2 separate regions of the Homo sapiens genome follow, and region 2 is linked to region 1. The links are contacts of gene promoters, found by promoter capture Hi-C in blood cells and fetal thymus (Javierre and others, 2016). All regions are on one chromosome and are shown on one strand. Each heading gives the region's core, a stretch centred on a gene start or on the middle of the fragment in contact. The rest is flanking DNA. Distances are from core to core; before and after follow the strand shown.

Region 1 (6,370 bases), core at 1,368-3,867:
GGGGAGCAGGTCATAGATGGGCCTATCCTGGGCCCAGGTAAGGTCTTTATGCCAAGGCGGACATCTGGAGCCCTGGTCCAGGATGTGTCGACATACAGACAACAGAACGCATAGTCTAAAAACATAATTTAATGCATCGCGGTGAGTCTGAGTCAGGAGGGAATGCGGTGTGGAGAGGTGAATTTTCTGTTTGCTGGAATTCTGCTGTGGGTGGGGTTTTGGCTGATGGACAGGGAAATCTGCACAAGTATTTCGGGTCACAAAGAAGGACGCCCCAGGAAGCCCGCGCTCCCTCTGGCCTACCTCCCTGGCCAGGGCCCGGAGCCCTCCGCTTCTAGGCACTGGGAGGAGGCTGTCTGAGGAGGGCAGGCTCCCGGCCCTGCCTGTCCAGTCTAATCAGGTTTGCAAAGTCTGTGCCGCCGCCTCAAGGGCTCGGGCGTCCCTTCCTCCCTTGCCGGGATGGGGATGGAGACCAGGAGCACAGCCCTGAGCGTGGTGGGTCGCAGACGCACTGAGGCCAGGAGCGGGGCAGGGAGGACGCAGGGATTTGTCTTTTCCAAAGGAGATGTCAGGAAGTGTTATGAATCGAGAGTGGCCTTTGCCAAGGAGCCGCGCCCGGGCGGAGACCGGGCGGCCTGCAGCCACCCCGCCTCGCACCCCCCGCGCCCCTAATCCGGGTACAGAAGAAAGCCCGAGAACGTGCTGTACTTGTTATTATTGCCTCCGTGAGCCTTCCCGCCATCCAGCTTCACATACACTTCGTCCCCTGAATCCAAGTGCAGCACCACGCTGTTACTGGCGTAGTCGTAGTTCTGGTCGGCGTCCTGTGCAATGGCGCTGGCCCGGACCTGGGGACAAGCGGTGGGAGCAGGTGAGCCGGGGCACCTCTTCCCGCGCCTTTGCTCAGCCCACACCAGGCGCGCCACTCACGGGCCTCCCGCCTGCTGCTTCAGGGTCCACACTCCCACCCCAGCTCCATGTTCTCTCTCCAACTTAGTCAACTCCTTCCAGGTCCCCCCTCCTCCTCGCGCCGACGAGTCTGGGAAATAGGGAGAGGGGAAGCTTCATGAACACTGACCCAGAGTGGAAGGGTGGGAGCCAGGGGCCAGGGCCAAGAGGAAAGGAGGCTGCAGGGCAAGGGGGCGACCTGGAGAGAACTAAAGAACTGAGGTTTCCGAGAAGCCCACGGAGAGGCAGGCAGGGACGCAAGTGGCCAAGGAGTGTAGTTTAGGTATGGGGGTCTCTGGGCTCTCAAGGCCCAACATTTGGCTCTACGTCCCGGTGAGCGCGGCCTCGGCGCATCGGGAAGCGGAGATACTGTGGCACCGAGGCGCGTTCATTCCCGGGGCTCGCAGGGTAGCCCGCGGGTGGAGAGAAAGGAGGCTGGTTCCCTGGGAGGTTCAGGGCGCGGGCGAGGGTTTACGGGGGCCGGTGAGTGTAGGGGTCACTGACCTGCCCGTTCTTGCAGAGGTCCGCCCACATGCTGGTGCCGTCGCCGCCGCGCATGAGGATGTGGTAGGTGAAGAAGTAGATGCCGCGTACCTGGCAGCTGAACTTGCCCGTGGTGGGGTCATAGTGATTGCCGAGGTTGGTGACCACGTCATCGAACTTCAGCACCTCATAGCCTTCGTGGGGGCTCTTGAGACCCACATAGAAGGCGATCTTGGGGCCGCTGAAGGTGGCGCTCAGCGCACTGGTCACTTCACCCTCGGAATCGCCACCTACCCCGGCCCCGCCGCCCACCACCCCGACGCCGCTGGCCGTGCCCGCCGTCAGTTGCAGCCCTGGCAGCCCGGGCCGCCCCGAGTCGCCCTTCTCTCCCGGAGGGCCCCTGGGTCCAGGCGGGCCCGGCTCTCCAGGGGGCCCCCGCGGCCCTGGCTTGCCCGGTCGCCCCGGGTCGCCCTTGGGTCCCTGGATGAAAGGAGGAGGAGGGTTGGCGCTGAGGTCCTGCATGACTTCCAGGGCGGCGGTGCTGGGTCCGGGTGGCTGCGCCTTTGCACCCGGGGGCTCCCCGCCGGGCGCGGCAGTGTAAGGGTCGCAGATCATGCGGCAGGTGCCCATCATCTCATAGTGCGCGGCGCCTCGGGGCGCCGCCTGCAGCAGCAGCGGCACGGCGATGAGCAGCCCGAGCGCCATGGCCAAGAGTACGCCGACGGCCGCCAGGCAGGCACGCCGCCGCCGCTGCCACAGCCGGGAGGCGACCGCCACCAGCTCCTCCTTGCCGCCCGGGGAGGTAATGGTGGGGCGGCGCGGGCGGCCCCGCTCCCCGCGCTCGGGGACCGGCTCCGCGGGTCCTGGCCGCGCCCCCGACGTGGCGACCCCCAGCCCCGGCTACCCAACTACTTCAGCGAGAGGCGCCGGGACCTCTGAGCCTGGGCCCACCGCGCTGGGGCTGGTCGGGAGAGCCGCGGACGCCCGCGCGCATGACGTGGGGCACACAAGACGAATCCGGCGCCCCGAGGGTCCGGCGCCGGCCAGGGAGTGCTTGCGCTGGCCGGGGAGTCTGCTTGCGGCGTCCGGCGCTGGCTCCGCGGCGCTGCCTCCCGCCAGGCTCCGCTCCGCTGGGTTTAGTGGGGCTCCTAGCGCAGTGAGGGCGCCCCGGCTCCGCGGCGCGCTCTGCTGTGCTCTCTCGCTGTTCGCTGGCTCCCGCGCGGAGGGGGGACCCCGCTACCCTGACGTAAGGAGTCCGGGGCTGAGCGGCGGAGGCGGCGAAGCAGCGCGCGCTGCCATCACTCGGGAGACGGAGCCCTCATGTCATCAGCCTCCTATCTGGCGGCGTCCTCGGCAGAGGCGGTGAAGGCGCGGTTCCCCCTGGCGGCTCCCAGGAGCCACAAGTGGGCGCAGCGGGCGCGGTCCCAAGCCGGGGCACATCGGACACACCCACCCGCGGCCACACTCACGCGCCCCCCACCGATAACACACACAGACACCCACGCACGCAGTGGCGGGGCACGCACAGCCACCCCCACATGGCCACGAAAGCAGCTGGAATCCAGGTGTCAGCAGGGCTCCTCTGGGGTCACCTAATCCATCCCCTGGCCTGCAAAGAGGATCAAACCTCAACCCACCGAGTCCAGGAGAGTCCCGTGAGGTCCAGCGGGAAGGAGTTTCTGAAAGACCTCCTGAGTTATTTCTTCAGAATTGAATAGATCTCGCTTCTGGAAGATCTTTCGCAAACCTAGACTAAGGACTCCAGACTCTTAAACAGGCTCCCGTAGAGCACCCCACTAACCTCTGAGGTGACTCTAAAAAGCCCAAGGCTCCCAATACAAGAATATTTGCGGCCGGGCGCAGTGGCTCACGCCTGTGATCCCAACACTTTGGGAGGCCGAAGCGGGCAGATCACCTGAGGTTGGGAGTTTGAGACCAGCCTGACCAACATGATGAAACCCCGTCTGTACTAAAAACACAAAATTAACTGGGCATGGTGGTGCATGCCCGTAATCCCAGCTACGCGGAAGGCTGAGGCAGGAGAGTCGCTTGAACCAGAGAGGCAGAGGTTGCGGTGAGGCGGGATCGTGCCATTGCACTCCAGCCTGGGCAACAAAAGCAAAAGTCCATCTCAAAAAAAAAAAAAAAAAAAAGGAATATTCGCCTCAGACCTTTTCTTCCACCAGAAAATGGCTGGCCCTTGTCCTCTGCGTGAAGCTGGTGTAGAAACCAAATGCTTGATGCCGGCACTTGGCAGTGATCATGGTGCACTCAGCTTCTACTCCAAGCCCGGCCACTGCCAGGCAGATGCATGGGCACATTCCCTTGGACATCCCCAGCTTCCTCCTCCTGAGATGGGTTTAGTTATTTTAGAAAATAGTCCAAATAGTCCAAAGCCATTCTGAGCCAGTCTTGAATAAACCATGGCCTCAGATGAGAGCAGAATAGTCTATCTCCAATGTAGCATGTGAGGCTAAGGAAGGATGAGAGGCCCGCCGGTGTGGGAGAGACTTCCAGCGGAGAAATCAAAGCCCCAGCTTCTGCTCTTGCCCTGAGTAGCTGTGTGATTTTGCCAGGTGGTTCCTGTCCCTGAGACTCAGTTTCCTTAAAAGGCCGCCTCCTGCCCTAGCACCCCCAACATGGGAATCACACCAGGCCTGTCCTGGGGGGAGAATCTAAGGGCTGGTGTCAGTGTTTGGTGTAGCATCAGCATCTCTGGAACAACAGTGCACCCACCTAAGGCTATTGCTTTGAAGCTAACTCTCATTTGTCCTGCACTAGGTTCTTACGGGTTAATTAAAATCTATTTTTGTCCTCTGATCACCCTGGGTCATTTCCCCACTCCCAACCTCGTTGCTCTAGCCTGTTCTCTCCACATATATTTGTGGAAAGGATGACTGAGCCTAGCCGGAAGCCAACTTTACCAAGGAGAGAAGGAGCACATTTATTGGCACCTACTACGTATGCATCAGGCACTTTGCACGTGCTCCTTCATTCATTCCTCATGTTACTGTGGATTAGTGATCATTTTCCCACCGCACCAATGAGGAAAAAAAAAAGGTTTTGCAAGTGTAGGGTGTTTGCCAAGTGCATTTTACCCACATGACAGAGCCAGGATCCTCCCGGCACCCAGATCAGGGGCTATCTGAACCTGTCAGTGAACACAGCTTCAACAGCTACTTCTTGGCCACAGTCTTCACTGGTTTCCTCAGACTTGGGAGTCTTTCTCCACTCTCTGCCTCAGAGTCATCCCAAGAGCACGTGATTTCAGGAGCCACATGGCCTACTTCCAATCCTGGGTCTGAGACTTCCTGTCTGTGTGACCTTGAGCAAGTTGCTTCATCTCTCTGAGCTCGGATCTCCATGTGTAGAATGGGAATGGAAAAAGAACCTACCTCTAAGTTATTGAGAAGACTGAACGAGCCAATTAATGTAAAGGCTTTAGAACAATAGCTAGCTCAGTAGAAGCTTAGCTATTTTTATTAGCTATTGATGCTTTCAACCTCCCCTGCCATGGTTATGACCACTAGGATGCGACATGAAGGCAATATGCAGGGTGGCATGGGGAGGGTTAGGGTTTTAAAAAAAGAGAAGCTCAAAGATAATTCACATCCTTTGTCCTTCTCCAGAGCGCAGAAGGGGGATGTCCCATGCCTCCCACATTCCCCAAGCCTGCCCTGCTCTGTCTTTTTGTCTTTCAAAACTACCCAGAGTGTTTGTTCCCAGTCACCAGTTCCACCTGGACAAACATTTTCCAGGCAGACACTCACTCCGTTTGAATTCCCCAGCCTTTCAGACTGCTGGAGACTGCCAAGTCCCAGTGATTTTGTCCTTGCAGTATCTGGGCAAAGATGAAGCAAGGAGGGTCAGATGTTTGAGACCCAGGCTTTCACCTTGGCAGACCACAAGCAAAGCTACCTTCCCTGGGGATCAGCATTCCTGGGAGCGCCTCTCAAGACCAGCCCTCCACCAGGAGGCAGGGGCAGCAGGCTCCAGGGCAGGCAGAGCCCAGGCAGCCTCCACATAGCAGCCAAATAAGTCAAGAGGTGTCTTTCCCCTTGCTTCTCCTTCCTCCCACCCATCATGGCAGGGCCAGAAGGCATGGCCTGCTGGAGTGTTGAACATACCTATTTTTTTTTCTTTTTTTTTTTTTTTTTTTTGAGACAGAGTCTCACTCTGTCGCCCAGGCTGCAGTGCAATGGTACAATCTTGGGTTACTGCAACCTCTCCCTCCCAGGTTCAAGCAATTCTCCTGCCTCAGCTTCCTAAGTAGCTGGGATTACAGGTGCCCGCCACCATGCCCGGTTAATTTTTGTATTTTTAGTAGAGGTGGGGTTTTGGCATGTTGGCCAGGCTGGTCTCGAACTCCTGGCCTCAAGCAATCCACCTGCCTCAGCCTCCCAAATTGCTGAGATTACAGGCGTGAGCTACTGCACCCAGCTGACATACCTGTTTATCCACCTGGCTTCTGCTCCTCCTGAGCGATCCATATCATTGGTGACTATCTTCTCTTCAATACTAATTATGACCTATATTAACATATTGCCTTCCATTTAGACTGTGGTTTTTACATTTCGAGACCCACTCAAATCTGTTCTAAATTGCCTTTAGTAATCCAGCAGGCATTCCTTCTGCCAACATACACTGACAACCTACTATGTGCCAACCAGTGCTCTCTATCTTATCCTTTCATAGAGCCCTGTGCTCTGTGACACATAGTTTGATGCTTGGTTCCACACTGTCATGTCCGGTTCTTTAGTGGCCTCCACCAGCAGTGGGCCCCATGCTTCATCTACCTGCACCATGGCCTGTCTCCTGCATCTCATCTGGACTCCTCTCTAATTATCCTTTCAGTCTCAGCTAAGTGTCACTTCCTTGTCTGAAGTCTTCCGTGACCCTTCTCTAAGCTGAGTTGATAGTTCCTACCCATGTACGCTTT
Region 2 (6,370 bases), core at 1,057-3,556, 220 kb before region 1:
CAATTATACCACTCGGTGGTCCTAAGCCTGGTGCACATTAGAGCTCTTTCTGAAATTTTTATTAAAACCAGAGCCTCAGGTTTGGGATGGGAAACTGGCATTCCTCTACTGCAAACCTCTGGATTGGAACCCCTGGATTAAACCAGAATTAAATCAGTCTATAGATTGAGGCAGAGAGTCTGGATTCAAATTCTGGTGTAGCTCTTTATAACCACACAATTTAAGGCAAGTTGCAAGTTATGAGTGTTGAGCAATGTATGCAAATGTTTAGCACAGTGTCTGGCATTAACAGTAAATCCTGGATAGGAATTAATGCTTGCACAAGCCATTACTCTGTGTGGAAGTTCAGAGAAGTAAGTCAACCAAGGTCACACAGAAAGTTAATGAAAGAGTTGAATTTGGGACCCAAGTCTCTCTGGTCTCTAGCCAGAGGTGAAGTGACTACACTTGACATCCACTAAGTGCTTCCTTTAAGAACAGGGATCCTCAATAATTAGCCCATGACATTTTCTAATAAGTCCCCTCCCCACACCCATGAGAATCAAAGATGAGCTGACCAGGCAGAGGCAGAGGGAGAGCAGGGAGCTCTGCCAGGCTAAGTGAGCGGGTTCCTTTGCCTAGGGGACTGCCCTCCAGTGGGCAAATCCCCTGTGTCCTCAATTATCTGGTCCTGTCTACCCCCCAGACTCTAGCTGGAGCCATCACTTCCTCATTTCCAATTTTCCTCTTTAAATTTTTCTGTCCTGGCTTCTGCTGCTTGTCCTCTGGCGGAACCAGTGACTTCCTGAATGTTGAAATTGTGGGCGCCACGGGGGACCTCTGCTTTTCAGGGCACTGCTAGGAGCTCACTTTCCTGAGTTTCATCCCCTTTCACTTTCTGACATACCACGGGCCAAAGAAAGTGACTTCGCCTGGCACAGCTTCACTTCCTGCCACCTGTCTTCCTCACCTCTTACATTTCAAATAGGCCAAAAGTCTACGGCTCCCCTGCTCCAGGCTGTCCCACCTCTGAGAGGCTGCACCTGCCCTCCTTCCTCCCTGGAGGGCCTTTGCCTCATCTTGATCTGGATCAATCCCCCATTATCCTTTTAAGCCCAGCTCTGGTATCTGATATCTCTTGATTCAGATGATAAAGCTATTTGTCATATTTCTGCCCTGTCTCCCCTGCCTCCCGGCACTTCTGTCTTTTCAGGGACATCAACCTTTGCCGCACTTCACAGCAATTTTCTGGAATGTAGTTGTAGCCGCAACCATCTTGCATGGTAGACTGTGAATATCTTTCATGAAAAAAGGCCATTTCTTCATCTCCTCGGTGCCCAGCAGGCTCACAATGTCTCTAATGATAATAACAACAACATGACCATAGTGTTTATTACCTAATACTTCCATCCTAGCCACCTTATATGATTTAATTCATTTAAGGCTCACGAAATTCATATCTTCCTTATTTATACAAACAGAAGAGTGAGATGCTCAAAGCTCAAGTGATTTGCCTACTGCCAGACAGCCCCTATGTGGAAGAGGTGGAATTTGAAGCCAGGCATTCTAGCTCTTAGTGTCTGTGTCTTAACCACCATGCTATACAGCATCCCTGGTAGAGATGCCTGACGGGAGGGAGAGAGGGGAGAAGCTACTTTCCTTAAGGAGCTCAGATCTCACTGGGGCCTGGACAAGGACACCTGTAACACATGTACACATGTGCACACATGTGTACACACACAGAGAGAGAACATGGGAAAACTACAAGAAGAAATACTAAGTGCTAAAATGTGTGGTTCAGAGCAAGGCTTCTCAAACTGTAATGTGTATATAAATCACCTGGGGATCTAGTTAAACTGTAGATTTGGATTTGATCTGATGGGGTGGGACCAGAGACTCATTGTTAGAACAAGTGAACTTGCATTTCTAACAAGTTCTCAGGTGATACTAATACTGCTGGTCCATGGACCACACTTTGAGCAGCAAGGATGAACTCTAAAGGTTGAGGCAGGTCAGAGAAGGGAGATTTCACTGTGGGCTGGAGAGGTCCTGGGACAGAGAGCTGAGTCTGGGCCCATGGCAGGGCTTGGTTGGCCCTCTCTGGAGCCATCCAGCTTTTGGGTCTCAGGGACCTGGGAGTGACGGGTGCATTCAGAGGCCCGTAACTTGTGTCCCAAAGCCTCCTCGATCCCCCTTAACAAGCAGCAGCACTGTGTGGGAGATCCACATGTGAATAGCCCGTGTTTGAGAAATGTCCAATCCTGATCATGTCAGGAAACATCCTGCAAATTCTGAAATCAGAGCCAAAGGGAAGTGCTGCGAGGTTTACAACCAGCTGCAGTGGTTCGATGGGAAGGATCTTTCTCCAAGTGGTTCCTCTTGAGGGGAGCATTTCTGCTGGCTCCAGGACTTTGGCCATCTATAAAGCTTGGCAATGAGAAATAAGAAAATTCTCAAGGAGGACGAGCTCTTGAGTGAGACCCAACAAGCTGCTTTTCACCAAATTGCAATGGAGCCTTTCGAAATCAATGGTAAAGTACGATTCCCCAATAATGGAAATGACCAGAAATGTAGTCTTTCTGCTAGCGAGATACGAAAATAGACAAGTCAATAGAAAGTCTAGGTTTGGCTTATTGCTGCATTTTGCACGTAATCATCACTAATACTGTCTGGAGTGCTTCAATTTGGAATTTCTGGAATGCTAATAATAGATGCTGTATTTTTAGCATATAGTCAGGTTTTTCTTAGCTTCACTATTGTTTTAATCATATTTAAATATTTTCCCTTGAAAAAATGCCAATGCTTATTAAATGTCCCCTTTTTTTAATGAATGTCTTATTCTGACACACAGGTTGGGTGATACAATGAAAACGCAAAACAGGGGCACTGAAAGGGGACCACAAAACTGAAGCCAAGCATGACAGTTTTCAAAACACAGCTTCTTTAAAATTCTTTAAGGGGATTTCTGTTATAACTGATGTGCTGGTCAGGAAACATATTCTGTATTTCATGTTGACTGAAATATGTTCATAGCTTCATAATTAGTTTGTCTTAGGTTAAACTCAGGTCTGTAATATTCAGTCAACTCTGTTGTCTTTATTTTCTCACTCAGCATTCAACAGGTGATGCATTTTTAAAATCTTCTAGAATTTGTAGCATTTGAAGTCATGGGTGGGCTTGCATTCCACAAATGAGCTCTGATTTCCTAGTCTAGAACGTTCTCTTGGGATCATCTTCCAAGTTGATCAGTCATTTCCACTCCCAGGCTTTGCTGGAAGTTGTCTATGCAGGAAAATTGGTGGCTTTATCTCCTGGCCAGAGTGTCCTTCTCATCCCACACCTGTCTGCCCAGGTCCCTGCCTGGAATTTTCAGCGCACAAAGATGAAGCGTCTGGGGCTCTGCCTCTAGGAATTTACAGTGTAATAACAGAGAAAGGTGTGAGTGCTAATGGCTATAATAATCATTGGCTATTTAGAACTTCTCAGAATGCAACATTCTGGATACATGACTGTTTAAGAGACTGAAGATGTTCAAGCAAAGTCAGCTGATCAAGCATACTCAGCACCTATTTCCAGCAGGGCACTGCACTCAGCACTGAGGAAACAGGCTTGAATAAACATAGCCTCTGGCCTCTGGCTTCTGGCACGAGGGGACAGGGGACAGGGTAAGCTGCCCATGAACTGACAATTTCCATGTTGTGACTGAGACTTCCACAGGACATGATGGACAGATCTAACCAGGTGTAGAGCCCTGGAGGGCAGAGCTGACACCTCTTCCAAAGTTTAAAGGATAAAGGGAGTCCGTTAGAGAAAGAAGTTAGTGCCTGGGGCGGGGTGGGCGCCACATGTTTGTATTGTATTCACAAGAAATATTCAGAGAAATATAAATACTTCCATACTGTTTGGCCAAAATTGGGACGGAAAGACCAGTGGGGACTGAGGCTGGAACCAAAAAATTTGACTTCATCCTGAGGTCAGTGGGGAAGCAGGAAGGGGCCGATGTGGGGCTGAAAGGCACTAATGTGCATGTGAGGTTGCTCTTTGTCCTACATAGGGATGGCTGGAGAGAGAAGCTGAGGACAGAGAGGAACTTGGCAGCAAGAGATGATGAGGGGCAGTGGATGGAAGGCAGGAAAATAAAGGAATGCTCTGGAGAAACACCGGAAATCAGATCAATTGGACTGCAATGGCAGGACAGGGCTGGGGAGGAAGACGCAGGAGTTAATAGTGAACCCTAGATTTCTGACCTGGGTTGTGTGTGTCACCAATTAAAAATGTAACTAAGCCAGTGCAGGAGGATTCCTTGAGCCCAGGAATTTGAGACCAACCTGGGCAACATAGTGAGACCCTATCTCCACCAATAAATAAATAAATAAAATGTTTAAAGTATCTCACCAAAAAACCAAAACTACTCCAATTTGGATGAAAGAAACATTTTCTTATATGCATTCACAACATCCTGCCTTCTAATACAAAGATTGTGGAACATATGAAACTTTCTAGAAGAGTGCCATTATGCAGGTAATCACTGTGAGGCTCTGGTAACACAGTGACCCCTCAGGGCCGGCTCTGCACATTACTTATTTTTTGTCTGCTGAAGATTTATTTATTTAGGCCATATATAGTTTTATTTTCTTTTGAAAATACATTATCTTAAAATTCCCACATATGGTTCATGAAAAACAGCACTGAAAAATATTTCTAATGTCATTTTCCTCATTTATTTTTCTCTATTGTTGGTATTGAAATATAAAATGCTGTTTTTCCCTGATTATAAAGTATTAAACTAGTTTTTTTTTATTATTATTACCCAAGGATACTGGACTAGGAAAGTTTTCAACACATGCTGAAGAAAATTTTAGAAGTGAGTTTGGGAAACTTTTGGAATATAACCTTCATTTTTTCTAAAATTAATCTTAAAAAAAGGATGAGGAGTGTAAATTTCACACTGTACCCTCTAGAAGCACAGTGCAACTTGCATCCCTCTTTCCTGCCATCACCTCCAGCCTCCCTCATTAGAACAAGCCTCCTTCATTCCATTATCTGCACTAGAATTAAGGTACTCTTTCTTTTCTTTATTTTTTATTCTAGCTTTTTAGGAGTGTGATTAACAATACAAACTGTATATATTTATGATGTACACGTGATGATTTGATATATGTATCCATGGATGAATAACCACCACAAAGACTGCTTTAGTTTCCTGAGGGGACTTGACATAGGGTTGGCTTCTGTGGCCCTCAGGGTCTCACAGAATCCCAGGTCTCTCCTCAGAGCCATAGAAACTGCTCTTTTGCCCCATCATCCACCTCAACAATGGAACATTTGGGCTTGAACGAGAGGATTTACCTGTTGGCAATATCTTTCTGGGATGTGTCTGTTTCTACCTTTTTGAAAATTAGCAATCTGTGTCTGGCTTTAGGCTTCCTGTCACACTCCTGGCCGTCTGGTTTCTCAAGGAAGACTACTGTTACCACAGCCTAACAAGACAAGCACTTGTTAGGCTGTGCAATGTGATCTGTCGGAACCTCTTGTTTCTTTTTTTTTTTTTTTTTTTCTTTTTTGAGATGGAGTCTCGCTCTGTCACCCATGCTGGAGTGCAGGGGAGCGATCTCGGCTCAGTGCAACCTCCATCTCCCGGGTTCAAGTGATTCTCCTGACTCAGTCTCCCTAGTAGCTGGGATTACAGGTGCCCACCACCATGCCCGGCTAACTTTTATATTTTTAGTAGAGACGGGGTTTCACCATGTTGGCCAAGCTGGTGTCCAACTCCTGACCTCAAGTGATCCGCCCCCCTTGGCCTCCCAAAGTGCTGGAATTACAGGCATGAGCCACCTACCTGGCCCTGTTGGGACCTCTTACTCCAATCTCTCAACTACTTCAGGCTTCCCACCAACTTCAGTCTGAAGAACATTCTTCTTGAGAGAGAAGTTTGAAACAAAATACAGGTAGAAAAGTTAGGGTTTTTATTGTTGTTTGTTTTAATTAACACTAACTATTGTCTCTCAGTAGTGAGCCTAACCATCCTTTCTTCCCACCCTTAACATACTCTAGAGCAACCTTCAACAAAACCCAAACCCTCAAGTCCGTTCAGGCTCAGTCTTGCAACACGACTGCTATTATTTCATGTCATTGTTCTGACTTTGCTCTTCATCATGCCAATATTTCTCAACATCTTTTAAACATCTGGCTTTATTGCAGAGTTTAGTCTTAACTTTTTATGGTGAAGTAGTTATAGAGTCAGAGAAAATTGCAAAAAATGTACAGAGAAGCTTTTCTGACTCTTGTCTCATTCTCCCCCAGTGGTAACATCTTACACTGCATTAATACAAAATTACAACCAGGAAACTGATATTGGTGCAATCCATAGAGCTTATTCATTAGTTTTACA

Evidence for each region. Contacts are between HindIII fragments. The CHiCAGO score rates a contact against its expected background, and 5 or more counts as called.
Region 2: the fragment with the promoter of MARCO here is called in contact with the fragment with the promoter of C1QL2 in region 1 in 2 of 17 cell types (M1 macrophages and M0 macrophages); the score reaches 5.6 in M1 macrophages.

What each region holds. Positions count from the first base shown.
Region 1 is chr2:119,156,134-119,162,503 of GRCh38, forward strand. C1QL2 (complement C1q like 2) reads right to left here and starts at 2,618. Exons shown (of 2, transcript NM_182528.4): 1 at 1,453-2,618; 2 at 110-848. The coding sequence starts at 2,136. The coding sequence ends at 669. RefSeq lists an enhancer at 986-1,796. The HindIII fragment of the contact is 3,837 bases long and covers 1,061-4,897 here.
Region 2 is chr2:118,939,888-118,946,257 of GRCh38, forward strand. It overlaps MARCO (macrophage receptor with collagenous structure), which reads left to right and starts at 2,307. Exons shown (of 17, transcript NM_006770.4): 1 at 2,307-2,510. The coding sequence starts at 2,414. The HindIII fragment of the contact is 9,171 bases long and covers 1-2,404 here.